4 separate regions of the Homo sapiens genome follow, and all the other regions are linked to region 1. Evidence: promoter capture Hi-C in human tissues and cell types (Jung and others, 2019). All regions are on one chromosome and are shown on one strand. The core of a region is centred on a gene start or on the middle of the fragment in contact, and the rest is flanking DNA. Distances in the headings are between cores, read along the strand shown.

Region 1 (6,559 bases), core at 2,951-5,450:
TTACATGGAAAAGTATTTACATGGAAAAGATGAACTTGGATTCTGATCACTCATCATGTAGGAAAAAAATCAATTCCAGGTGTATCAATATCTTGAAGGTCAAAAAAAATCTTAAATCCTCACTAGATGATTTATGTGATTTTTTTTATTTTTAGGTAGATAAATACCTCCTGACCAAGACAAAAATATTATTATTCGAAAAGAAATGACTGATAATTTTAACTGGATAAAGCTTTAGAAAACTTAACCATCAAAAATCACATTTCAGACTGAGAGAAGGAATTGTGATAAACCCCTTTAACGCCTATCTCTCCTCTGCTCTCTATGTGGACTCTATTTCTTCTGGCATTTGGCCATAACAGCTGCAGCTGCTGCAGCAGGTGGACTGGCAGCAGGATGTGCTGCAGCAGCAATTTTGAAAACATACAAACCCATGTGTTTCTTTTTTTACCCCATGTGTCTTCCTTCAAGGATCATAACCCAAAGCTGATTGTCATCCAATATCTGCAAACAGTTGTTTTATATATTTACAAAGCTTTTATTATTGTTTATAGCAGGAGGATAAATCTTATACTAGCTTCTACATTACAGGTGGCATCACAAGCCCTCCCTAAACTTGGTTTTTAACTCATCACCATGACTCAACATCATCCTATCTTCAGAGGTACTTTCCAAAGTAAATAGCAATAAGGAAAAACAGATGGTGACTAACAATTGTCCTGACATCTCACTAAGCTACATAGGACCTGTTAGATGACCAAATACTGTACTCAGCTTTAAAAATGAGGATCAGTGCTTAATTGGTAGGGAGAATGATTCATTTCTCAGTTCAGGAAAATAGTCCTGACTGGTTATTTGTCAATTAAGAAAGCAAATAAATCAATTACTCAAAGAAAATTCACAGCACTGAATAGACAACTTCCTCCTTGGGACATTTCCCAAAAGACTAGAGAAGTATCAAAGACAAGTTCTGCTCATTAATCAAAACTTTGGGGTACCATGTATAAAAGGTTCAGATTGAATAACGTTATCAAACTCTAGGAAACTCACCTCTGAACAGGAGTGCACCCTCCACCCCTGACGCCATGACCCACTGCTGCTCCCCTTGCTGCCAGCCTACGACGTGCTGCAGGACCACCTGCTGTGTGTCCAGCTGCTGCCAGTCTTGTTGCCACCCCCCCAGTTGCTGCAACACATCCTGCTGCCAACCTAGCTGCTGTGCACCCGTCTACCAGAGAACGTGCTACCATTCCATGTGTGTCTGCCTGCCTAGTTGCCTAGACCAGATATGTGGATCCAGCTGCTGCCAGCCCTGCTGCCTGCTGCCCAGCCTACTGTGAGGCCACCTGCTGCAGGACCACTTGCTGCCAGTACACCTGTGTGACAAGCTGCTGCCAGTCTTCCTGCTGCAGCACACCCTGCTGCCAGCCCACCTGCTGTGGGTCCAGCTGTTACGGCCAAACTGGCAGTGGGTCCAGCTGCTGCCAGCCCAGCTTCTGTGCACCCATCTACTACAGGAGAACTTGCTACCACCCCATGTGTGTCTGCCTGACAGGTTGCCTAAACCAGAGCTATGGATCCAGCTGCTGCTAGCCCTGCTGCCAATCAGCCTGTTGTGTGTCTAGGGGCTGCCAGCCTTGCAGTTATTGATCAACTTACCACAGATTACTACCTGCATAGAATAAACTTCCATCATCAGACCAGCCAGGTATCCATTTATTCTTTTTTTTTTTTTTTTTTTTTTTGAGACCCAGTTTCGCTCTTGTTGCCCAGGCTGGAGTGCAATGGCATGATCTTAGCTCACCGCAACCTCCACCTCCTGGGTTCCAGCCATTCCCCTGCCTCAGCCTCCCGAGTAGCTGAGATTACAGGCATACGCCATCATGCCCAGCTAATTTTGTATTTTTCGTAGAGATGGGGTTTCTCCATGTTGGTCAGGCTGGTCTCAAACACCTGACCTCAGATGATCCACCCGCCTTGACCTCCCAAAGTGCTGGGATTACAGGCATGAGCCACCACGCCCAGGCCAGATATCCATTTCTATGGCAAACTCACTCCACTTCCTCTGCTGATAACATACATACTGTCACTAAACTGTCAGTCATCTTCTTGTTAACAAATTATGAACTTGCTTAATGAGTGTAGCCTTTTTCACTCCGATAGTCTCTTCATTGAGCCAGCTGCTGGTCAGCTTCATCTGTTCTTGACCTGGATTTATGATCTGAGCGTTGACAAAATTATCTTTGTTTTTTTACTCTAGGAAAATTTCTAAAAAGAAAAAAAATTCTCATAGCTGTCTTATTAATTTTTTTTTTCTTTTTTTTTAAACAGAGTTTCACTCTTGTTGCCCAGGCTAAAGTGCAATGGCGCGATCTCAGCTCACTGACACCTCTGTGCTCCCAGGTTCAAGTGATTCTCCTGCCTCAGCCTCCCAAGTAGCTGGGATTACAGGTTCCTGCCACCACATCTGACTAATTTTTTGTATTTTTAGTAGAGACGGGGTTTCACCATGTTGGCCAGGCTGGTCTCAAACTCCTGACCTCAGGAGATCTGCCCACCTCGGCCTCCCAAAGTGTTGGGATTACAGCCATGAGCCACCACACCCGGCCCTTATTAGATCTTTACAATGATAAATATCATTTTGTTTCAAATTAATACTCACTTTTGTGACTTTCCATGACAACTCTGTATTATCTTCTTAGCAGAAAGGAGCATTGCTTTATTTATTTCCTAATAAAGCGTTTACTATAGTGCCTCCTGTGTTGTGTTTTGTTTTGTTTCAGTGATTGTTTTGCATCTCACATATATTATCTCATCTAAGTCACATAGAAGCCTCAAACTTGGACAGAACCAAGATGAGTAAAGTGGCCTGCATCGTGTCATGTAGCTAAGGATGGACAGAATTGGCTCTAGGCTCAGGGTTTCTGATTTCACCTCTACTGATGTCACATTTACAGAATTATACTAAGGACTTAGAACCGGGAAGGGGTGCACTCGAAGTTGTTCTCTGACAATGGAAACACCAATTCCACGCATTTGCAGACCATTTTCTACTAACAAAGTTCTTTCCAAATTCATTCCCCTAACCAATAGCCACATCTTAAGAGCAACAACTCGTTTTAAGAGCCCTCGTGAATCATGTGAACATTTTATATTCTCAGTCTCTTGTCAGGCACTGGTGAAGTTCTTTAAATATTTTTGAGCACCCATTGTGTTCCTGCCTCTGTCCTGGGACTTTGGTGTGAGAGGCTCATCTAGAAATACTTGTTTGTTGAAATAATGGAATTGGCATTCTGTTTGTCCTCATTCTTCTGGTCACCTAAATAAATGGTAATAGAAGATTAAGTCATGGCCCAAAAAACTTAGGCCACATTTCATTTGCACCCAAACTTTGAGAGATAATTTGTTTTCACATCAAAACTTTTTATTCCTGGCTTACTGTTTTTTTATTGTGGTAAAATACACATAAAATTTACAATTATAATCTTTATTTATTTATTTATTTTTGAGATGGAATTTTGCTCTGTCACCCAGGCTGGAGTGCAGTGGCACGTTCTCAGCTCACTGCAACCTCCGCCTTCCAGGTTCGAGCGATCCTCCTGCCTCAGCCTCCCGAGTAGCTGGGACTACAGGCATGTGCCACCATGCCTGGTTAATTTTTTGTAGTTTTAGTAGAGATGGGGTTTCACTATGTTGGCCAGATTGGTCTCAAATACCTTACCTCGTGATCCACCTGCCTCAGCCTCTCAAAGTGTTGGGATTACAGGTGTGAGCCACCGTGCCCAACCACAATTATAATCATTTTTACATATACAGTTCAGTGGAAGTAAGTACACTCATGTTGTTAGACAACCATCATCTGTCTCCAGAAATTTTAAAAAATTTTTTAAATTATTTATTTTTTATTTTATCAACTTTTATTTTAAGTTCTGGGATACGTGTGCAGGATGTGCAGGTTTGTTACATAGGTAAATGTGCCATGGTGGTTTGCTACACAGATCAACCCATCACCCAAGTATTAAGCCCAGAACCCATTAACTGTTCTTCCTGATGCCCTCCCTCTCATTGCCTGCAACAGGCCCCAGTATGTGTTGTTCTCCCACCCCAACGTTTGTCCATGTGTTCCCATCATTCAGCTCCCACTTATAAATGAAAACATGTCATTTTGGTTTTCTGTTCCTGTGTTAGTTTGCTGAGAATAACAGCTTCTAGCTCCATCCATGTCCCTACAAAGGACATGATCCAGTTCCTTTTTATGGCTGCATAGTATTCCATTGTGTACATGTATCATATTTTCTTTATCCAGTCTACTCTTGATGGGCATTTGGGTTGGTTCCATGTCTTTGCTATTGTGAGTAGTGCTGCAGTGAACATATGCATGCATGTATCTTTATGATAGAATGATTTCTATTCCTTTGGGTATATATCCAGTAAAGGGATTGCTGAATCAAATGGTATTTCTGGGGATGGTGCTATCTGGTCCAGCTACTATGCTTTTCTATGGTCTTCACAACTCACAGACCAGGAGATTCCCTCGGGTGCCTACACCACCACGGCCCTGGGCTTCAAGCACAAAACTGGGTGGCTGTTTGGGCAAACACCAAGCTAGCTGTAGGAGTTTTGTGTTTTTGTTTTGCTTTGTTGTTGTTGTTGTTGTTTTCATATCCTAGTGGTGCCTGGAATGCCAGCGGCACAAAACTGTTCACTACCCTGGAAAGGGGCTGAAGCCAGGGAGCCGAGTGGTCTTGTTCAGCAGATCCCACCCCCAAGGCACCCAACAAGCTAAAATTCACTGGCTTGAAATTCTCGCTGGCAGCACAGCAGTCTGAAGTCGACCTGGGACACTCGAGCTTGGTGCGGGGAGGGGCGCCCACCACTGCCAAAGCTTGAGTAGGCAGTTTTCCCCTCACAGTGTAAACAAAGTTGCCGGGAATTTCGAACTGGGTGCGGAACCACCTCAGCACAGCAAAGCCACTGTGGCCAGACTGCCGCTCTATATTCCTCCTGTCTCGGGAGGTCATCTCTGAAAGAAAGGCAGCAGCCCCATTCAGGGGCTTACAGATAAAACTCCCATCTCCCTGGGACAGAGCACCTGTGGGGTGGGGCAGCTGTGGGCACAGCTTCAGCAGCAGACTCAAACGTTCCTGCCTGCGGGCTCTGAAGAGATCGACTGTTCTCCCAGCACAGCGCTCAAGCTCTGCTAAGGGACAGACTGCCTCCTCAGGTGGGTCTCTGACCCACATGCCTCCTGACTCCTCCCAGCAGGGGTCAACAGACACCTCATAGCGGAGAGCTCCGGCTGGCATCTGGCAGGTGCCCCCTGGGACAAAGCTTCCAGAGGAAGGAGCAGGCAGCAATACCCAGGCAAACAGGGTCTGGAGTGGACCTTCAGCAAACTCCAGCAGACCTGCAGAAGAGGGGCCTGACTGTTAGAAGGAAAACTAACAAACAGAAAGCAACAGCATCAATATCAACAAAAAGGATGCCCACGCAAAAACCCAATCCAAAGGTTACCAATATCAAAGACCAAAGGTGGATAAATCCAAGAAGATGAGGAAAAACCAGCACAAGAAAAGGCTGAAAATTCCAAAAACCAGAATGCCTCTTCTCTTCCAAAGGATTACAACTCCTCACCAGCAAGGGAACAAATCTGGACAGAGAATAAGTTTGATGAATTGACAGAAGTAGGTTTCAGAAGGTGGGTAATAACAAACTCCTCTGAGCTAAAGGTGCATGTTCTAACCCAATTCAAGGAAGCCAAGAACCTTTATAAAATGTTACAGGAACTGCTAACTAGAATAATCAGTTTAGAAAAGAACATAAATGACCTGATGTAGCTGAAAAACACAGCACGAGAATTTTGTGAAGCATATACAAGTATCAATGACCAAATGGATCAAGCAGAAGAAAGGATATCCGAGATTCAAGATCAACTTAATGAAATAAAGCGTGAAGACAAGATTAGAGAAAAAAGAATAAAAAGGAATGAACAAAGCCTCCAAGAAATATGGGACTATGTGAAAAGACCAAACCTATGTTTGATTGGTGTACCTGAAAGTGATGGGGAGAATGGAACCGAGTTAGAAAACACACTTCAGGATATTATCCAGGAGAACTTCCCCAACCTAGCAAGACAGGCCAACATTCAAATTTAGGAAATACAGAGAACACCACAAAGATACTCCTCCAGAAGAGCAACCCCAAGACACATAATTGTCAGATTCACCAAGGTTGAAATGAAGGAAAAAATGTTAAGGGCAGCCAAAGAGAAAGGTCGGGTTACCCACAAAGGGAAGCCAGGAAGCCCATCAGACTAATAGTGGATCTCTCTGCAGATACCCTAGAAGCCAGAAGAGAGTGGGGGCCAATATTCAACATTCTTAAATAAAAGAACTTTCAACCCAGAATCTCATATCCAGCCAAACTAAGCTTCATAAGTAAAGGAGAAATAAAATCCTTTACAGACAAGCAAATGGTGAAGGATATTGTCACCACCAGTCCTGCCTTACAAGAGCTCCTGAAGGAAGCACTAAATATGGAAAGAAAAAACTGGTACCAG
Region 2 (6,559 bases), core at 2,946-5,445, 97 kb before region 1:
AGCAGCTTGATTCAGAGGGACAGCTTGATGGTGTAATCTTGGAGAAGAATCCAGCTGGATACAGCCTAACTTTGAGGAAGATTACCTACCCACCCCATCCTTTTTCAGCTCCGCTTTCTGCTAAGAGCCACTTTCATCAGCAACAAAATCCCCCACATTTACCATCCTTTGATTGGTTCATGTGACCTCACTTTTCCTGGACACAAGACAAGAGCTTGGGAGCCAGGAGAGCAGATACAAAAGACTGTCACACTGGCCCTCTGCCCTTGCTGGTGGAGGGCAGCTGCCTCACACAAAAAGGCAGAGGCCTCACTGAGCTGTTGACACTTAAGCCATCCATGGAAGGCAGAGTTAAAAGAACACTGTAACATGCCCTCTGGGGCTATGGGGGTCGCAGGCACCCCCACCTAGATGCTGCTGTGGGGCCCACACAGAGTTTGCTCCTGCCGGTGGCCAAAAGCACTCACTTTGGCTCCTGCACTGATTCACCTGCATGCTTCCTCCCACAAGCAGGGGACTGCAGCAGGTCCCAGTGAGTGAAGTTTGATCCTACCGTGCTGCAGTGCCGATTCCAGCACACGTGCACTCCAGTTCCTGCCTCATTTGCTTGCATGCTCGCTCCTGCAAGGAGTTGAGAGTGGCAGGCTGAATAAACGAGGCACCCGTCACAAGTCCCACAAAGGGGTCAGGGAAACATCCTGCTTCAGTTCCATCAAAGGCAATTTAAAAGCTTATGCAAAAAAAAAGTATTACTATGGCTGCGCTGTATACAAATAATCAGGTCAAGTATAATAAAGAAAATCAGCCCTGCCATGATTTGTCTTTAGTAAAAATGGGAAATGGGAGAGAGAAGAATTATGTTTCAAAAAATGATAATACACCTGTTGTTAGATTCTAGTCTTGCCTAATGTTTTCCCATTTTTATTATTTTCTACAGTTTCCACTGAATTCTAATTTTTCTTGGCTACAGGTCTTCAAAAGATTGTTTTCAGTTTTTTTTTCTTCTTCTTTCCCCCATTTTTCCTAATTTGGAGTCACTGAAAACTCATCTGTGCTTTTGTAAAGCCCTGCGAACTGGAGCTAGAGAATTTAAACTTCAGAAGAAAATACCAGCAACCTGTTTACATACATAAGCCACTTTCATACCTGCCTACTGATGTATGGACTTCAGAGTAATGTGGCCCATATTGATTTTCCAGGATTGTTCTTTTGTTTATTTTTGTTTTTCTCCCTTCCTCCCCCTATTTTCTCTTCATAGGACATGAAACTTCACAACCTGCTAAAAATGAACTTTCCTAATAACTCAGGAATTATCTTTCTAGGAATAAACAATCCTAGCCATGAGATATCAGATGAAACTTGAGACCAAAGACTGACTTTCTTCAAAAAGGCTTTCTCAAAAAGATTTTTAAGAAAAGGGGGGAAATTTGAAAGGAAAATAAACCTTGGGGCCCTGAAATCACTAAGGTAAAGGGGAAAGTCAAGCTGGGAACTGCTTAGGGCAAACCTGCCTCCCATTCTATTCACAGTCACCCCTCTGCTCACTGAGTTAAATGCATATCTGATTGCCTCCTTTGGAAAGGCTAATCAGAAACTCTAAAGAAAGCAACCATTTGTCTCTTATCTACCTATGACCTGGAAGCCCCTCCCCGCTTAGACTTGTCCCGCCTTTTCCGGACGGAACCACTGTTCATCTTACATATGTTGATTGATGTCTCATGTCTCCCTAAAATGTATAAAACCAAGCTGTGCTCTGACCACTTTGGGCACATGTCTTCAGAACCTCCTGAGGCTGTGTCACAGGTGTACATCCCCAACCTTGGCAAAATAAACTTTCTAAATAAACTGAGACCTGTCTCCGATTTTGGGGGTTCACAAGGCCATACTGACTTGTCCCCTGTGTGAAGCCCAGCAGGATCCTTTCACAGCAAGCTCTTTTCACTTGAACCTTTGTGCATCAGTGCCTAACTCTTTCACAAGATAAGGGGTCCTACAGAATCGAAGCAGACCCACCAGAGGGTTACAAGTTCCTGATACCTAGTACAACCTGGGAAAGAGAGCAAAAGCCCTTTATTCCTGATGCAGCTTCCCCAATCTCTAGCCAATTTGCACCAAAAGCCCAAGAAACTCCTAACTACAAATTCCTTCCTGGGGTGGGGTGTTTGGGAGGGTGGGCAGGGACTTCTCTGGGGTCCTGCATGCACAGCTAGGATCAAGGTTCAGCTTATAGTAACCATTTCCTCATTTTAATAGTAAAAACAACCACAACAAGAAAAACACCCCAAGGCGGAGATTTCATATGCTAATGATACATGCGATGGGTGTTAGACCACGTGGATCCTGAGCACATGTGCCAACCGCAGGTCTGCCTTTGCATACTTGACCTCACCAGTATTTTATGATTATGTACGTATAGCTCCCATAAAAGGAATTCCTCTTACAGCACTAGCTGCTGTCTCTCCCACTGAGCACCCCACTCTGCCTCTCAAAGAGTACTTTTGCTTTGCAACAAATTTCTTCGCTTACTCTTACTTTGGATTTGCTCTCAAATTCTTTTGCACAGCAAATTCAAGAACCTGAACTGGTCCACCGACAACAAAATAACAAAATTCCCTTATATAACATTTGGAGTCTGCCTTAACTGATTTGAATCAAGATGGAATGCAGTAGGATGAGATGTGCCTTTTAAATTTGACACAGAAGAGTGAGGAGTATTACCATGATATCATAAGTTCTAAAATCATGGATGAACTTACAAACAACAATACTGGGGCTTTACCTATCCCAAAGCATTCCATATATCAAATTGAAACAATCAAAAGCTTCTATTTTATTTTAGTTTATGCGTGACATTGGAGCAGTTTGGCACTATGAGTTCATCCCTGAAGTCTTACTTTGGAATCATGCTTTGAGAATCCCCTTCTACTGCATTCCCACCTCACCCCCATGAATCAGTAAACTCAGTGAAAATTATCACAAAAAAATGCAAAAAACAATAAAAGATTTCTAAATGAAAAGTTTAATACAATATATTTTGTGAACACAATAAAGATAAAGAACCAATAAAATAGAAAAATTCTGGCAAACTTGAACAAACAGAGACAAAGAGAGAACAGGGAGAAAGCAGGAGAGCATGGGAGGGGCAGCCTCCTACCTTTCCAAGAGAAAAGAATGACTGAAAGGCTGACAGACAAATAATATGTTTGAAATGGAGATAATGTGTACCTCACTGGGAAGGATATTCTGTAGGCTCAAAACGATTTAAAAAATGAGGAATTTAGAGGATTGGAATAATTTCTTAGCTAGTGGATTACAAATTATTTCATATTTGGTGCCATGACTGGAAGAGAAAGAAAGCAAGGGAGGGAGTTTAAAATGAACCAGAATGTTCTCACAGAGTCAGTGGGATGGTGATGGGCTCATTGGAAACATGAAGTCCACCCTGCTGAATGACATCAATCCCACTCCATGTGTCCTAATAGTCAGCACAGAAGAATGGTCTACAACTGTGGGCCTGCAGTGAAGGGAGAGATGAGCCAGGGCAGTGGGCTCAGCAGCAAGAGGAGGCACAGCACAAGGGGCGGGGGCAGCTGGAGATGACACAGGTTGGGCGATAGCAAGTGGTGTGGCAGGAGACTCGGCCACAGACTGGACGCAGGCAGCAGCAGGGGCGGCAGCAGCTGGATTCACAGCAAGAGGGGCGGCAGCAGCTGGAGATGCTGCAGCTGGGGTGGCAGCAGGTGGGCTGGCAGCACACAGACTGGCAGCACTGGGGTCTGCAGCAGCTGGACACACAGCAGCTGGGGCGACAGCAGCTGGAGATGCAGCATCTGGGGCGGCAGCAAGTGGGCTGGCAGCACATAGACTGGCAGCACTGGGGCTTGCAGCAGCTGGACACACAGCAGCTGGGGCGACAGCAGCTGGAGATGCAGCATCTGGGGCGGCAGCAGGTGGGCTGGCAGCACACAGACTGGCAGCACTGGGGCCTGCAGCAGCTGGACACACAGCAGCTGGGGCGACAGTAGGTGGTCCTGCAGCAGGTGGTCTCACAGCAGCTGGGGCGGCAGCAGGTCTCCTGGCAGAGGTCTCGGCCACAGCCTTGGTGAGAGCACACGGAGCCACAACAGGAGTTTACCATGGTGTCAGAGGGTGAAGGATCTAGTTGGGTTTCTAGGAGAGTGAAGTTCTTGTGTTTGGAAGTCTCCTGGGCCTGTAGTCCCTTTATACCCTCCTGAAGGCCCATTGCCACCACATCATTATTTCCTTGTTATTATTTACCTACTGGAAAAATTAATCATGTAATTACATCATTGTGTTTCCAGTTAAATACTCCAAAACAGAGAAAATAACCCATTTCCTTTTCCTGCTGTGCTCCTGTGTTTCCATTGGAAATGCATGTCATATTTCTTCATTAGTGGGGAGTCACCTTTGTCCCTGGTCTATGCAGTGTCTTTTACAAAGCACTGGTCACAGGACTCTCTGACATTTTGTTTTTAAATGTGACTCTCCCTCCTACCTGCAGATTGCTGTCTGCAAATCATGGGGGATGATTTTTATAATGTGAATGTATCTTTTGTTGTCAAAGAATGTCCTGGTCAGGTGAAATGTTGGGAAGGAATTAGAAGGAAGCACTCATTTGGGGAAGGATGTCCCATCTGTAATGAGGATGACTCTGATCCCATGTGTGCATCTCGGATGGTCGGGCAGATGGTCAGATCCCAAGAAGTTCTAAACTCTGTCAGATCTTATTCCACAGCCTCCAGCGAAAGTACTTACCCATGACTCACTGCCTTTAAAGGGTAAAAACACATTTTGCTGTATGTCTTACAGTATATGCATTATGAGTAGGAAGTTTTGATTTATCTTTTTTTTTTTTTTTGACAGATTCTCAATCTGTCGCCAGGCTGGAGTACAGTGGCATGATCTCTGCTCACTGCAACCTCCACCTCCTGGGTTCAAACGATTCTTTTGCCTCAGCCTCCCGAGTAAGGTGGTTTGCGCCATCACACCCAGCTTACTTTTGTATTTTTAGTAGAGACAGGGTTTCACCATGTTGGCCAAGATGGTCTCGATCTCTTGACCCCGTGATCCACCTGCCTTGGCTTCCCAAAGTGTTGGGATTGCAGGCATGAGCCCCCAACACCCAGCCTGATTAATCTTTGATCATCAAAATTGCATGATGGATTTTTCATTTACAAAAGCATTTGTTATATATAAAGAATATTTAGAATTATTAAGCCTTCAATAACATGCATCCAAGATGTTCTATTGGGTACTCTGGGTGTAGAACAGATAAACCCTCAACTTTTTCTTGCAGGTACTTGCATAAGACACATGGATAGGAAACAGTTTGGCAGAAATGAAAAGAATTACAATTATTTTCATTAAACAACTAAAATAAGAAATGTATAATATGTGGATAAGTTCCATACACCCTCATGGTATGTATATTACTTGTGAAGTATTGACTATGTAGCAGGCATTGTACCAAATATCTTACATTTGTTTCATTTTCACGCTTTAATAGAACCTTATGAACTAGTTTATATTCTTATTAGTCTTTTAGGGGAATACTCAAAAGAAGCATTAAAAACTTAAAACAAACAAACAAACAACTTGTCCAAGGTTAAAGAGAAAGTAAGCCTAATATGTCTTAGTGTAGCCAAGAAAGCCGTAAAGAATACAATTTGCTAAGCTTGCTGAAACTGCTTCATCTTCTTGGAATGTTTCATCTTTTTTTGTCCACTCTGCAAACTCCTACTCATGTGTCAAGACCCAGTTAAAATATTTCCTCCTCAATAATATCTTTCCTGCTAAGCTACCCCATTCATGTATCATGATTTCCTGCCTTGTGCTCATAATTTATACATTCTCCTGTATCATAGTCATTTACTTCTGTCTTTCCACCACGTGCAATGCAAATACCCTGAAGGCTTGCGCTATGGCATTTATTCTCGTTACCATGATACTCAGCACAGAGAACACTGGTGGTAAATGTTTGTTGAGTGAATGAAGGTTTTTTTGATGACATAGAGGCATGTAAGGTCCTTTAAAAAATGTATATATCTTTTGACTTCTGGATAAAAGGGAGGAAAACATCCCAAACAAAGAAATCATAATTTCATTTCAGGAAGACTAAACTCATTTGTGTGATAGGTAACATGTCACCCGATAAATAACATACGTGGAAACTGCGGAAGTCAAGATTCAATTTATAGAATGAGACTTGTTTATAGATAACCAAGAATACAGTGTTGAACGTGCATGCCTATATTCACACAGTAAAAAGACAGGAAGGAAGTAAACGCCAGATGGTAGCACTGGTTCTCCTTCACCTCCTGACTTCCTCGTTTTACTCTTGTTGATTGAAATAACTATTATTTCCTGTTTCGTATCAGTCAGCCAAAAATGTTTGCTGATAATCTGTTGTCTTAGCTTAAATTCTACCCAATGCAAACCTTGAGAAAAAGACCTGAGTGCACATAATTTATTTGGGGGATGATCCCAGGAAGCACAAGTGAGGAAACGGTGAAAGTAAGACAGGAAAGGTAGAAAATCC
Region 3 (6,559 bases), core at 2,433-4,932, 87 kb after region 1:
TGTCCCTTTACAGGATAAGTTTGCTGGGCTCTGATATAGCACTCTATTTTTTGCAAATCTAATACCTGTAAAGTAATATGTAATTGTTATTTTAATTTTGAAATCTCTGAGAAATAATACTTTTGAGAATTCTTTCACAGGCTTACTTAAGGATTCATCTTCCGTGAAGTTCCATTCATGTCTCAAGAGAGGTTTTGCACAGGGTGTCCACCCAAAGATCGTTTCTGGGAGACATTCCATCCATGGCACTTCCTTTGTGATATCAAGTTCCCTCTCTCCCCCTCCTCCTTTTTGTTTCTAATTTTCTTTTTGGACCTCAAAATTAGTCAATCACATTTCTTATTTTATGGCATACTAAAAAGATATCCTTCCAAATCTCTTCCCCATCAGTTCCAGAAGTACAAGAGGCTTCAGTTTTAATCAGTTTGAGAATATTTAGAACCTCACAGAACACATCAACAAACTCACAAGATCATGTAAATAAATGAGCCCTCAGAGGTAGAATAAACTAACTTCTTCGTGTTATAGATTAGCACCCTGGTGTTACATAAGGTCATACAGTAAATAAGTGGCCAGGATGCAACTCAAGCCTTCTCCTTTGAGCCGTGGTCTAGTGCTTTTTCCTCACCACCACCATAGAAGTCCTCCTCTGAGTTGCATTTCCAAGCAGGTCATAAGGCAAATGCCCATACTCTTGTCCTTCAGTGACCTTGATGTCTCATTATTCCCGGGCTCTTTTGGTTAGTTTTCCTTCATCTGTAAGGTTTTTTTTAGAATGTCCCACACATATTGGCAAGACCTATTTAACTACTGAGAACCTCAAATCACAGTGATTGAGAGGACTGGAACGAGAGATGCTCAGCCAGTGACCATCAGGTAAGTTTATGAGCAGATCCTAAGGTCCCTCCTCGGGTTGGGGAGAAGGCCCGATCTGGGAGAAAGTCAGGGCACTGGTCATAAAGACATAAGGACAGAAGTCCAACCATTTAAACTGGGACAGGAGTCATCCAAAGGGCAGGGGGGAACAAGAGGGTGATATCAGCTGGGCCAGTTAGATGGGGAAGGCTAAAATGCTAAAATCAGTCTTTTAGTGCACTTTACTCAGGTTTGGCTAGGCATGTTTTATAGGCAATTGTAAATCATGGAGCAAATAAATCAACCTTAAGTGCAGCCATACAACTAAGTTGAAATGTGGTGTGTGTCTGTGTGTGAGTGTGTGTGTGCATGTATGTGTGTGCATCTGTATCTGAGTGTGTGTGTGTGTACCTGTATGCATCTATATGTGTGTGCATGTGTGTGGGTAGAAAAGGTACTGAAGGCAATACCCATACATAGTTAGAAATAAAAGGAAAATACCCATTAGAAGACTAGAACAGATCTAGCTACTTGAACTGTTGAAATGATAAGCCCACCTATATCTAGGGATTCAAGAAGCATTCAATGCTTCTTGAATTCAATTCAAGAAGAGATTCAGTGCTGACATTAGTCAATTCAACTGCAGGTAGAAATTCTCCACCTGGACCCTTCCATGTTCAGGTGCTAGATTTTGTTCTTATGGCCATCCCCCTCTTTTTTGACCCAGAACCTTCTTTCAAGACTACGACCCTTGTGATTCTAAAACTGGGGATAAAACAATTAATAGTCTCTCTACAGATCCAAAGTATACCTCAGTGACAGAAAAATGTGAACTATGAAGATTTGTTTGCTAGTTACCAAATTATTGCTGCTCACCTACAGGTACACCCTTCATTGCCTGCTCTATGATAATACAAAGGGATCCTATGAATATTTCTCCTTAGCCAGCTGACACAATGTCCCAGGCAGGAGAATCGCTTGAACCCAGGAGGCAGAGGTTGCGGTGGGCCGAGATCACGCTCTTGCACTCCAGCCTGGGCAACAAGAGTGAAACTCTGTGTCAAAAAAAAAAAAAAAAAAAAAAGAATCTTAAATGAATTAACCCTAAGCTATTCTCTATGGCCAATACCTCATGTTTGTTTTCATCTGTGGCTTTCCAGAACCATTTTTGTTGTTGGCTTCCTGTCTACTCACTATAGGGAAAATGAGCCCACTCAGCTCAAAAGAACTCTTGGTGGTGAAAATTTTGGAAGCCAGTGAACTGTTTGCCCTTACTCTCGTCCAGCTGGAGAATCTATAATCCTAGACACTAGCTACCCTTGCAGACCAATGCAGACCCACTGACTTAGATGACTCAGGCTCATTGTGTTCAAATGTGACCTGAAGGAAATCTACATAGAGGTGTGTGTAGGAATGAAAGCACTCCAGGAGTCTTATTTATTATACTTAACCAGTCACATTTTTATTAGCAGCTGGCAGCAACGAGGTCTTCTGAAAGACCAGGCAGCATCAAGAAAGAGAAACAAGAGAGGGTTTGCTAAAGTGAAATGAATTGACATCATCAGGAAATGCAAGCAGCAGTGTGGTAGTCCATGGTTGCTGAAAGGTTATTCTCGGTTAAGAAGGATCTCTTCGTGCCTGGACAAGTTCCCTGGTCAGCACCTGGAGAGAATGTGAAGGTGGAATCAGGGTAAAGTTAGAAAGCAGGCAGCATTTGTACTCGGTGGGAGGCAGGCACCCAGGGATGGCTATGCATTTATAGACAGCCGCAGACCCTCAGAGGAGGTGTGAAGAGGGCTCCATTAACAAAGTGTTGCCTTGCAGAAGCTGGACTCACAGCTGGGTTGGCATGAAGTCGGCAAGCAATTGGAGCCACTACTGGGTGATGTGCCTAAACCAGTCACACAGCAAGCTGATTTGCAGCCACTCTGGTTATAGGAAGGGGGTCCATCACAAGTTGGTTGGCCAGAAATCACAGTGTCACAAGAAGCTGGTTTGCAACAGTTCTTTGTGGAACAAGGGGCCTGGCAGTTAGCCACTGGCTGGTAGATGAAGCATGTGGAAGGAACCAGTTGGCAGTGAGGTGGCTGGCAATGGGAAGGCACACAGCAAGTAGTATTGCAAGAACTGAACACACAAGTCGATGGCTGGCAGGGAACAGGCATGTAGAGGGCTGATTGGCAAGGCTTGAAAATATAGCAGATGGGTTGATAATAAGTTGATTTACAGGGCTGGCCTTCACCACTGACGGGTTGACATGAACTTCCTTGGCACCAAGTTGGTTGGCATGGACTAGCTGTACAGATGGTTGGTAGGCAAGAAGTTTCCGGACAGGAGGTCACTTCAGAGCAGGATGGCTGGCAGGATCCAGCATCACAGCAGACTGATTGGCCACAAGCTGCCTGACATGATCCAGACATGCAGACAGATTCCTGGCAGGAGCTTTGCTGGCAGGGACTGGCATCGCAGCACTTTTCCTGACAACAAGTAGATTCCGAGCAGGATGGCTGACATGAGCTAACCAGACAAGGAGACTGACCAGTGCCAGACTGATAGCAGGCTGCGTGGGAGCACATAGGTTGGCAAACAAAACCCACACAAGACGTTGCTGGAAGGCGGGTAGGTTGACACGAAGCAGGATCACAGCCACTTGGGGCACCAATGGATGGCTGACAGCTTTCTTGGCATGTGACCAGTTGCCACATTCTGCTGTGGCAGGAACTAGGCAAACAGAGAGCATGTCGAAATCCACCTTTAACTGGGTATGTGGTGATGGTGGGCACAGCTGGAATGGCTGTGGTGTTTCCAGGACAACAGCCGTCTGCCATGGTGCTGGTGCTGACCTTGCTGGGAAGTTGCAAGCTCAGTATACCTGCATTGGAAAGACATCCGATACAGAGGGGCTTTTATAGTCCTTCACTAGGGGTGTTGGCACGCCATGCAGCATCTTTCCTTGTTATTGTTTTTACTCATTTGCATGCAAACATCTGATTAGCAGGCTTCAGGAGCCTGGGAGATGTTTCAACTTTGAAAAGGTGTCTGTTGAGTCGGGAGTTTTCTGCGCTGCATTTGGATTCGTTGACACTGCTCCTGCTCTTGGATGAGCTGTCTCTTTTACAGGTTGCTCTCCAGCCTCACTGAAGCAGGCCTTTCCTGGCACTAACCTTTCATCAGGAGGCCTCTGCCAAGCCAGAGTGGCCCTGCTGTTCCTCCAGGAATGCAGCTTTGCACCATTCAATCAGAAATGAAGCCTTGACCCAGTTTGGGGAGAGGATGTCAAGACGGGAAATGGAAAATTAGTCCAAGGAACCCAGGGACACTTAAGTGCCTCTACCTCTTTTTAAAACCTTCCCATTTATCATTCCTGAAACTTGTTTACTAGTACTATTACTAATAATAACAATAGAAATGGCTTTCATTTATTGCATAGTTACTAGATCAAGTCCTTGGCTGCATTTTTCACTGGATCCTCACAATGACTTCAGTAAGTATAATTGTCATCACTATGTTAGAAGTGGCAAAACTAAAAAAAAGTAATAAATAAAGAAGAAACCAGGTTTAAAACAAAGTTAAGATTAAAATATAAAACTTCATTGGCCCTTTTAGGAAGCTTAAAATCTCCCCCAAATTGGTTCCTCTCAAGATTTTTTTAGAACAGAAAAGAAGAAAACAGAAGTGGCAAAACTCATAGAGTTTAAATCATGTTCCCAAAATTATGCAAATGAAAAGGGGTAGAAACAAAATTCAAACCTAGCTTTGTCTGACCACCAAACCCCTGATCTTAACCACCTATTAGACCCCCTGACTTTGGGGAGGCAGGGAGAAGGCGACACTGATATAGTGGCTGCAGGCTGACACCCCTATGGCAACAGACTGGCTCGTGAGCAGGTTGCCCAGGCCCCATCCTGGGGATCCTCCGCCCACTCCAGTGACTGTAATCAGCAGCTAGACCACACTGGTGTGAGTACTTACCTCTACTTATCAATACACTCAAACACAGTCTTTTAATTTTGGAAATTTTTTAAACTACCAAATATTTCATCAGGAAGTATCAAACCCACCCTAGGGCATCAATAGCATATGAATTCTATACAAATAAAAACACGCCAGCAGTGATAATAAAAAAAATCACTGTAAAGTGGTGTTAATGTTAAACCAATCCCTTCCAAGAGGAATTCGTGAGGGACTTTCTTGGCCCTTCTGCTTTTCCTCCGGGCTTGTCCTGGCTCCGCATCACCAACCAGGTCCGGTGTTCTACACCAGCCAACGTTCTGGCCGGTTCACGCTGGAGGCACATGACGGAGTGGAAAGATCACGGTGTGGGGAGCCAGATGGGGCTGGCCTTGATTTCTGGCTCTGCCACTAACTCATTCTGTTGAATATGTTAGCTAATTACCTAAGTCTTCAAAGTATGGCGATTTCATCAACTGCGTTGTCATGTCTCAGGTTAGTTTTTTGTGGGTGTTTGTTTGCTTTGGTTGCTTCACAAATTATTGAAAATACTGAAAACGCTGAAGGGTACTTTGCAAACCCCCAGCTACAAAATGCCTTCTCCTTGGCACCCTCTTCACCTCCATTTTAAAAAGAAGAGAAACATTTTTGATCAGAACAATGTCTGGAAAACCTTCTCCCCTGCCATTGAAATGCCTTTTTCCCCACAGTTGGTTTCTATGTCACACCATGGATCACTTCTTTTGCCCTCCTTCTTGTCTGTATTCATGTTGGCATCTTTCAATCTGCAGGAATCCATGCACTGTGTTTTATTGCTGAATATTTACCCCCAAAGCTCTTCATCTTCCCAGAGGATGTATTTAATACTTTCAGTCTTACCAAATATGTCAATCAAACTGGGAACATGAGCATGTTTGAAAAATCACATCAACTTCAGTCCAATATCCTATACCACTTTTATAGTTTTAAAGCAATCCATTCTACATCCATTTTTCTCTAAGTGATTCTGCTCTTGTTTTCTTTTCTCCTAAAGGAAACTCTTAATAGCAAGAACATCTGTCTTGCTGTAGTTCAAGGCACTAAAAACACCTAGTGTATCAACAAAGACACCTGTGACCACATTGAGACATATCATGATCCATACAGAACCTAGGCTTTGGAAAGAACTGGGTTTTAGTCATTTGCATGTTACTTATTAGCCATGACAATCGTGAATTTTATCACTCCCTTTATATATATGTGTTTGTGTGTGTACATATGTGTATAAATGCATGTATACTCATACATATGTGTGTCTGTGGTTTTTGAACAATACACACATATATGTTTGAGTGTGTGTATATATATACACACATTATATTAATATACATAAATATATACACACACGTATGGTTTTCTGGAGCTTGTTTATATCAATCAACACTATGTTAGTAAGATTCATCCATGCTATTGCATGTCGCCATTTTCCAGTCATCTTCACAGTATAATATCCCATTGGGTGAATATACCACAATTTAATTGTCCATTGATGGGCACTTGGATTGTTTGTCCTTCGAATTCTGCATCTTATGTATAGGTGAAAAAATAGGAGAGAATACATATTACTTCAAAGAATTGCTGTAATCCATATGAAATGCTTAGTCCAGTGCTTGGCACAGAGGTTCAAAACCCTAGCCAACTCCTGTGTGTGTGTGTGTGTGTGTGTGTGTGTGTGTGTTTAGACAGAATCTCTCTCTGTCGCCCAGGCTGGAGT
Region 4 (6,559 bases), core at 1,984-4,483, 75 kb before region 1:
TTAAAACTTTTCTTCTCTCTGCATTCCAATGTGAATATTTTCTACTTCCATTTTGCTGTTCCTCTCTCCTGTCTAATCTTCTGTTAAGCTTATTTATTGAATTCTTAATTTCAGTTTTTGAGTTTTTTGGTTCTAGAATTTTTACTGAACTTTTTAAAAATAGATTCTACTTCTTTAATAAAATTTACATTTTTAATCTATTATTTCAAACATATTAATTGTAAGTATTCTAAAGTCAGTGTTAGTACCTGTATATAGATCATCCTTGGCTCTGTTTCTATTTTCTTTTTTCTTCTTGATTTTGCTCATTTAGTCATTTTTTTCTGGCATACTTGGTAATTTTTTTAATTGAATGCCAGAAATTCAGGAATTATATATGAAAAACTAGAGGCTGGAGGTGATCTTGTCTTTCAGCTGAAGGAATTTAATTTTTTTCTGAGACCATGGTCTCTCAAATACTGCCTGCATAAGTCAACTCCCAATGCTCATAAACAACTGTTTTCTTAGTTTTGTCTAATTGTCAGAGTCATTCCTACTGAGAGGTTGAATCTTCTATCAGTTACTTTGTCACAACTGGAAGTGGAATTCTGTTTTTTAATTTTTTTAATTATACTTTATGTTCTAGGGTACATGTGCACAACGTGCAAGCTTGTTACATAGGTATACATGTGCCATGTTGGTTTGCTGCACCCATCAACTCATCATTTACATTAGGTATTTCTCCTAATACTATCTCTCCCCCAGCCCCCCACCCCCCAACAGGCCCTGGTGTGTGATGTTCCCCACCCTGTGTGTGATGTTCCCTGCCCTGTGTCCAAGTGTTCTCATTGTTCAATTCCTACCTGTGAGTGTCCTTTACTTTTTCAAGTGACCACTCTTTCCTTCATCGGGATTTTGGACCTTGCACTCTGCTAGTTGTTGTCTTACTTCTCTGGTGATTCCTTTCCAGTCTCCTGTGGTTTCTGTTGCTTTGTTTTCAACTTACAAGTGATGGAGTGTCCCACAGCTCAGGGCATAGATGTCTTATTCTCAGACACTTATTCCCTATGACCAGGAAGCCACATTCAGTCCCACGGCATTCAAAGTCCCATTTCATATGCTGAGACCAACTGGAGGTTCATTTAATTTTCACCTACTTTCTCTGACCCATTAGGAGTTGTGTGCTGTAAGTGGTGTGAAGGAATAATGCCCCTACACAGTCTAAATTATTGTTCGTTCATGTAGTAGAACCTATGGAAGTTAAAGATTCATGATTCAATACCACTACATTATTTACTGGACCTTTAACTCCTAGAATATGTATTTAGTACAGAACTTTCTAAATGTTTCTCCTGCTTTTACTAGCTTGAATTGACATAAAATTTATTTTCACCATTTTCCCCCTAGGATGGAGTTTATAGGCCATATTCTGGGTTTAACTAAGAACCAAACTATTCCGTTAGTTGGTTTCTTCTAAGTCCCCATATTTCTCTATGAAAATTCATTTTTGTAGAATTTATTGACCAAGACCATGTGCCCCAAGACCATGCTATTAAATACACACCACAGAAAAGTCATTAAGGTAGGAAAAATACTAAAATTTGAGTATTTTACATTTTCTGCAATTCCCCAACTTCTCAGAAGATTGATTTTCCCTAAAGGTAATTATTTTGTTGTTAATGGATGGAGATGAAATTAAAGCAGCTGAGAGTGTGATAAATTGAATTACACGAGAGATGGATAAACCTTAAAGAGTAGCCTCTGGTTTTACAAGAATGGGATAAAAGAGATAAGGGCAGAACAAGATGACAGGATCGGGGGCCATGGGTGGAGGAGGGAAACGGAAAAATAAAGCAAATAAGAGAGGAGTGAGATTGTAGGGAAAGATACACTTTCAAAAATATTTAAGAAAATTTAGCTGTGGGATATAACCCTTCTCCATATTCATAAAAAAACTTAACTTAAAATCTTTATTTTTTTCAATACTTTTGGAAACATCCATGTATTGCCTTTTTTTTAGGTCATTACATGTTGCAATTTTCTTGAAGGTGAGAGCAAGAATAGGATTCGTTCAGTTGTGTTTTGGGTGGAATTTCTCAGGAACTAAGGACAATCATTACAAAGCAACACAAAAAGAACATTGTATTTCTATGCGACAAAAGTGGAGTTTTATTCAGAAGCAGCAAAAATAAGATACAGAAACATTGCTGTAAAAGGAAATACAGGGTGAAACAATCAGACTTTCAAATCTGAGAGTGAGACAACCTTGCCCCGAGTTACCCTGCAAGAATTTCCATGTTTGGGACAGAAGAACTTGGTATCCATAAATACAAATATAAGGTATAAAATTTGGTAAATTCTATTAATTTCTTTCTGTAAATAATATCTAATTTCACACTTGGGTCAACATGGGGAACATATATTCTAGATGTATAGCCAGGACATATATCCTAGATATATGTCCAGGATATGGAAACACAGTTGGTGGGAATGGCCTCTTCTGAGTTGTTTATGAGATGCACAAGGTCTGCTTCTGTGAGGAGTGAGCTGAAGGGGAGGAGATAGTTTCAGGCAAGGAGCTCAGCAGCAAGAGGAGGCACAGCACAAGGGACGGGGGCAGGTGGAAATGACACAGGTTGGGCGATAGCAAGTGGTGTGGCAGGAGACTCGGCCACAGACTGGACGCAGGCAGCAGCAGGGGCGGCAGCAGCACGGGCGGCAGCAGCTGGATTCACAGCAAGAGGGGCGGCAGCAGCTGGAGATGCAGCAGCTGGGACGGCAGCAGGTTGGCTGGCAGCACACAGACTGGCAGCACTGGGACCTGCAGCACCTGGACACACAGCAGCTGGGGCGACAGCAGCTGGAGATGCTGCAGCTGGGACGGCAGCAAGTGGGCTGGCAGCACACAGACTGGCAGCACTGGGGTCTGCAGCAGCTGGATACACAGCAGCTAGGGCGGCAGCAGGTGGTCCTGCAGCAGGTGGTCTGACAGCAGCTGGGACAGCAGCTGGGACGGCAGCAGGTGGGCTGGCAGCACACAGACTGGCAGCACTGGGGTCTGCAGCAGCTGGACACACAGCAGCTGGGGCGGCAGCAGGTGGTCCTGCAGCAGGTGGTCTGACAGCAGCTGGGGCGGCAGCAGGTCTCCAGGCCACAGCCCTGGTCAGAGCAGACGGAACCACAACAGGAGCTGACCATGGTGTCAGAGGGTAAAGGTTCTGGGTGGGTTTCCAAGAGAGTGAGTTTCGTGAGTTTGGGAGTCTCCTTGCTGCATGTCCCCTTTTATACCCAGCTGAGGAGCCTTTGTGATTATGAGAAGATTGTTTCCTTGTTTTTGTTTATATGACACAAATGCAATTACTAAATTATATTGTGTTTTTCTAGTAAAAAATCCCAATATATAGAAAATGATTATTTCCCTTTTCTCACCCTGGTGTTCCCACATGAGTCACCTCTTGTTTTCCTTTCCTTGGTTTCAGTGTCACATGACTTCAGTCTCTGGGTATCATGTGACATGGGAGGGCCACTGTCACTTGTCTGTTTCTCATCATGATATCGTTTTGGGAGAGCTTCTGATTGGGCTAAGATCTCTAGTGGAGAAATGCATGTGTCAATCAGCTGGAATGCTGACAGGAAAAAAAGAAAATATGCTCCTGTTTTTGAGTGTGAGAAATAAGGAAGCTTATGATTCATTGTATGTATTCTGGGTGGCCATTGAGCTAACTAAATTCCTAGGTCATTGCAAGCTGTGTTAATTCTCATCACTCTGGTGCACCTTGAAACAGTTAGTAGTGACTCACTGTTTCTAAGGAACAAAGCATCATCTGGGCTTGAGCTGCGTCTGTCTTCAAAAGTGTCCTACAGGCTGAAGTAGAGTAATGTGGATCATAGTTTTTGATCTGCCTTTTGAAATATCAAATGTGTAATGGTTATGCTTTATTGACATTTTGTTAAAATCTTTTTCATACATTTTGAGCTAAAACATCTAGCAGGGTTTTTTTTTAGTATCACTTATTTCTAAGATTTTTTAAGAAGCATTGAGAGGAATATAAAAGATATATTCTTTAACTTACAGGTACTTATGTAACTGTGGACCTCAATTTTAAAAATCACCCACTTTCTCTTCCTTTCCTCCCCTCTCACCTCTTCATTCCTTCCCTCTGCACACTCCCTTCTGGCAATACTATCTAATATCTTATCTAATTATATTCTTGCTTAAGAAATTCCAGAGGCTAATCTTGAAACAAACCAGGCACAGAGCCCTGAGGAATCCTCTCACTTAGGGGGAATCTTGAACAATTAATCCACCACCATTGGGCTGAAGTCAAAATAATGCCTCCCAAACCTCTGGACACCCAAGATAGCCATTGGAACAAGACATGCAGACTCAGCACCCTGCACCACCCCTGCATGTCTCCCATGCCAAGTTTCCCTTTCAAAACCCTATGGCAAATTTTAAAATTTAAGATGGCACTTTAGAATGCTAGTTCACTAGCTAAAGGATGTCAGTGAGATATATCTTGGGGTGAAATGTTTTTATTTCCTTCACTTAGCATTCTTCTAGTTATTCATTACCAGTTAGTTCAAATGCCATTTTTCTCCAATATCTTTCTTGGCCTCACACAAAGCAAGGTTATCCTCTGGTTTACTGGCTCTCCAACTAGAACTAACTTTCCTTTCACCAGCCCTTGCCTCTTATGTGTTGGCTTTCCAGCAGCAAGCAGCTGAACCTGGGTCCAGTTACATTTACACAGAAATTGCATTCATAACAAGTTTTTATTTTATTTATTTATGTATTTATTTTTTGAGATGGAGTTTCACTCTTATTGCCCAGGCTGGAGTGCAGTGGCACCATCTCAGCTCACTGCAACCTCTGCTTTCCAGGTTCAAGTAATTCTTCCGCCTCAGCCTCCCAAGTAGCTGGGATTACAGCCATGTGTCACCACGCCCGTCTAATTTTGTATTTTTAGTAGAGATGGGGTTTCACCATGTTGTCCAGGCTGATTTCAAACTCCTGACCTCAGGTGATCCACCCACCTTGGCCTCCCAAAGTGCTGGGATTATAGGAGAGAGCCACTGTGCCCGGCCCATAAAGAGTTTTTAAATAAAATCCTCACATGATCATGGTTCTAAATAAAGGGTCTTCTTTAGTGCCGTGGACATTCAGGGAAAAGCAATTATTCAAGGAAAGAACAAATTACCTTCACAATATTTTCTCTTCCTGGGAATGAAGGGATGTCTCTTGTGAACTTATGTGGGGCCTGAGGAACCTGGAGATCTCTGCCCTAGTGGAGTTTGTATTCTAGAAGGAGCTGATAGACACATGAATTTCCAATGGAGAATGAGATGATAGAGCCCATGTGTAAATAAGGCACCACAGAAGTGCAATGGAGGAAGGATTTTCCTCACTGAAAAATCACTGACTTGAGGCGGATTGATTAGTAGGAGAAAAGGCATACACATTTATCTAACAAGTATACCCAAGAGCCTTCAGAATGAAAACTCAACCCCTCAATAAGGTACAGAAGCTTATACAACATCTTGAGGTCCCAGAAAGAATGAGGGCTCAGAGCATGGCCAAAAACAGGAAACAGGTTTTAGTGGCAAGGCAGGTGTATTGGTCCATTCTCATGCTACTATGAAGAAATACCCAAGACTGGGTAATTTACAAAGGAAAGAGGTTTAATTGACTCACAGTTCACCATGGCTGGGGAAGCCTCAGGAAACTTACAATCATGGCAGAAGGGGAGGCAAACACATCCTTCTTCACATCGTGGGAGCAAGGAGAAGTGCAGAGGAGAAGGAAGATAAGCCCCTTATAAAACCCTTAAATCTCATGAGAACTCACTATCACATGAAGGTAACCGACCCCATGATTAAATTGCCTCCCCCTGTGTCCTTCCCATGACACGTGGGGATTATGAGAACTACAATTCAAGATGAGATTTGGGTGGGGACACAAAGCCTAACCATATCAACAGGTTATGGGAGGGAGAAAGAAAGAGGCTTGGCCAGCAAAGGGGGTCTTGTTATGTGGATGAAATCTCACAGGTAGCAACTCTCAGAGAAAAGAGATGGTAAATGATTTTTTTCAGAACTCTAAGGGTGTCAGACAGTCAGTTATTCTCTTCTAGATCCAGGAAAGGCCTATAATGAGAAGGCCTGACTGCATTAATGGAGATTCTCTACAGATGCAAATTTCCTTCACAAAAGACAGCTTTGCAGGGCCACTTTAGTCTGCTGGTCATGTGGCAGCCATCTTAAAATATGTCAAAAAATATATTTTGGGGTAAAATATTTTTTATTTTCTTAATTTAGCATTCTTCTATTTGTTTTTTACTGTCCAAATGCCATTTTTCTCCAATATCTTTCTTGTTCTCACACAAAGCAAGGTCCTTCCTCCACTGCACATCTGTTGTGCCTTATATATGCACAGCCTCTACCATCTGATTCTCTCTCAGAAATTCATTTGTCTATTGGCACCTTCTAAAATACAAACTCCATTAGGGCATAGACTATGATCTATTCATCTTTATATAACAGAACCTGAAACATATGTTTAATGGATGAAGATTTTGTC

The links. Contacts are between HindIII fragments. The study calls those that stand out against the background at their distance.
Region 2: the fragment with the promoter of KRTAP4-11 here is called in contact with a fragment that was not itself captured in region 1 in 5 of the 25 tissues and cell types used here (IMR-90 fibroblasts, aorta, mesenchymal stem cells and 2 more).
Region 3: the fragment with the promoter of KRTAP29-1 here is called in contact with a fragment that was not itself captured in region 1 in 2 of the 25 tissues and cell types used here (IMR-90 fibroblasts and lymphoblastoid cells).
Region 4: a contact is called between the fragment with the promoter of KRTAP4-6 here and a fragment that was not itself captured in region 1, in 2 of the 25 tissues and cell types used here (IMR-90 fibroblasts and bladder).

What each region holds. Positions count from the first base shown.
Region 1 is chr17:41,211,621-41,218,179 of GRCh38, forward strand. It overlaps the pseudogene KRTAP9-12P. Among named protein-coding and RNA genes, the nearest start is that of KRTAP9-2, 12 kb to the right of the region's middle. The HindIII fragment of the contact is 7,634 bases long and covers 384-6,559 here.
Region 2 is chr17:41,114,178-41,120,736 of GRCh38, forward strand. It overlaps KRTAP4-11 (keratin associated protein 4-11), which reads right to left and starts at 4,196. Exons shown (of 1, transcript NM_033059.4): 1 at 3,004-4,196. The coding sequence starts at 4,138. The coding sequence ends at 3,551. The HindIII fragment of the contact is 2,482 bases long and covers 1,777-4,258 here.
Region 3 is chr17:41,299,169-41,305,727 of GRCh38, forward strand. KRTAP29-1 (keratin associated like protein 29-1) reads right to left here and starts at 3,683. Exons shown (of 1, transcript NM_001257309.1): 1 at 2,658-3,683. The coding sequence starts at 3,683. The coding sequence ends at 2,658. The HindIII fragment of the contact is 8,416 bases long and covers 1,164-6,559 here.
Region 4 is chr17:41,137,311-41,143,869 of GRCh38, forward strand. It overlaps KRTAP4-6 (keratin associated protein 4-6), which reads right to left and starts at 3,234. Exons shown (of 1, transcript NM_030976.2): 1 at 2,123-3,234. The coding sequence starts at 3,177. The coding sequence ends at 2,560. RefSeq lists an enhancer at 2,366-2,878. The HindIII fragment of the contact is 4,215 bases long and covers 369-4,583 here.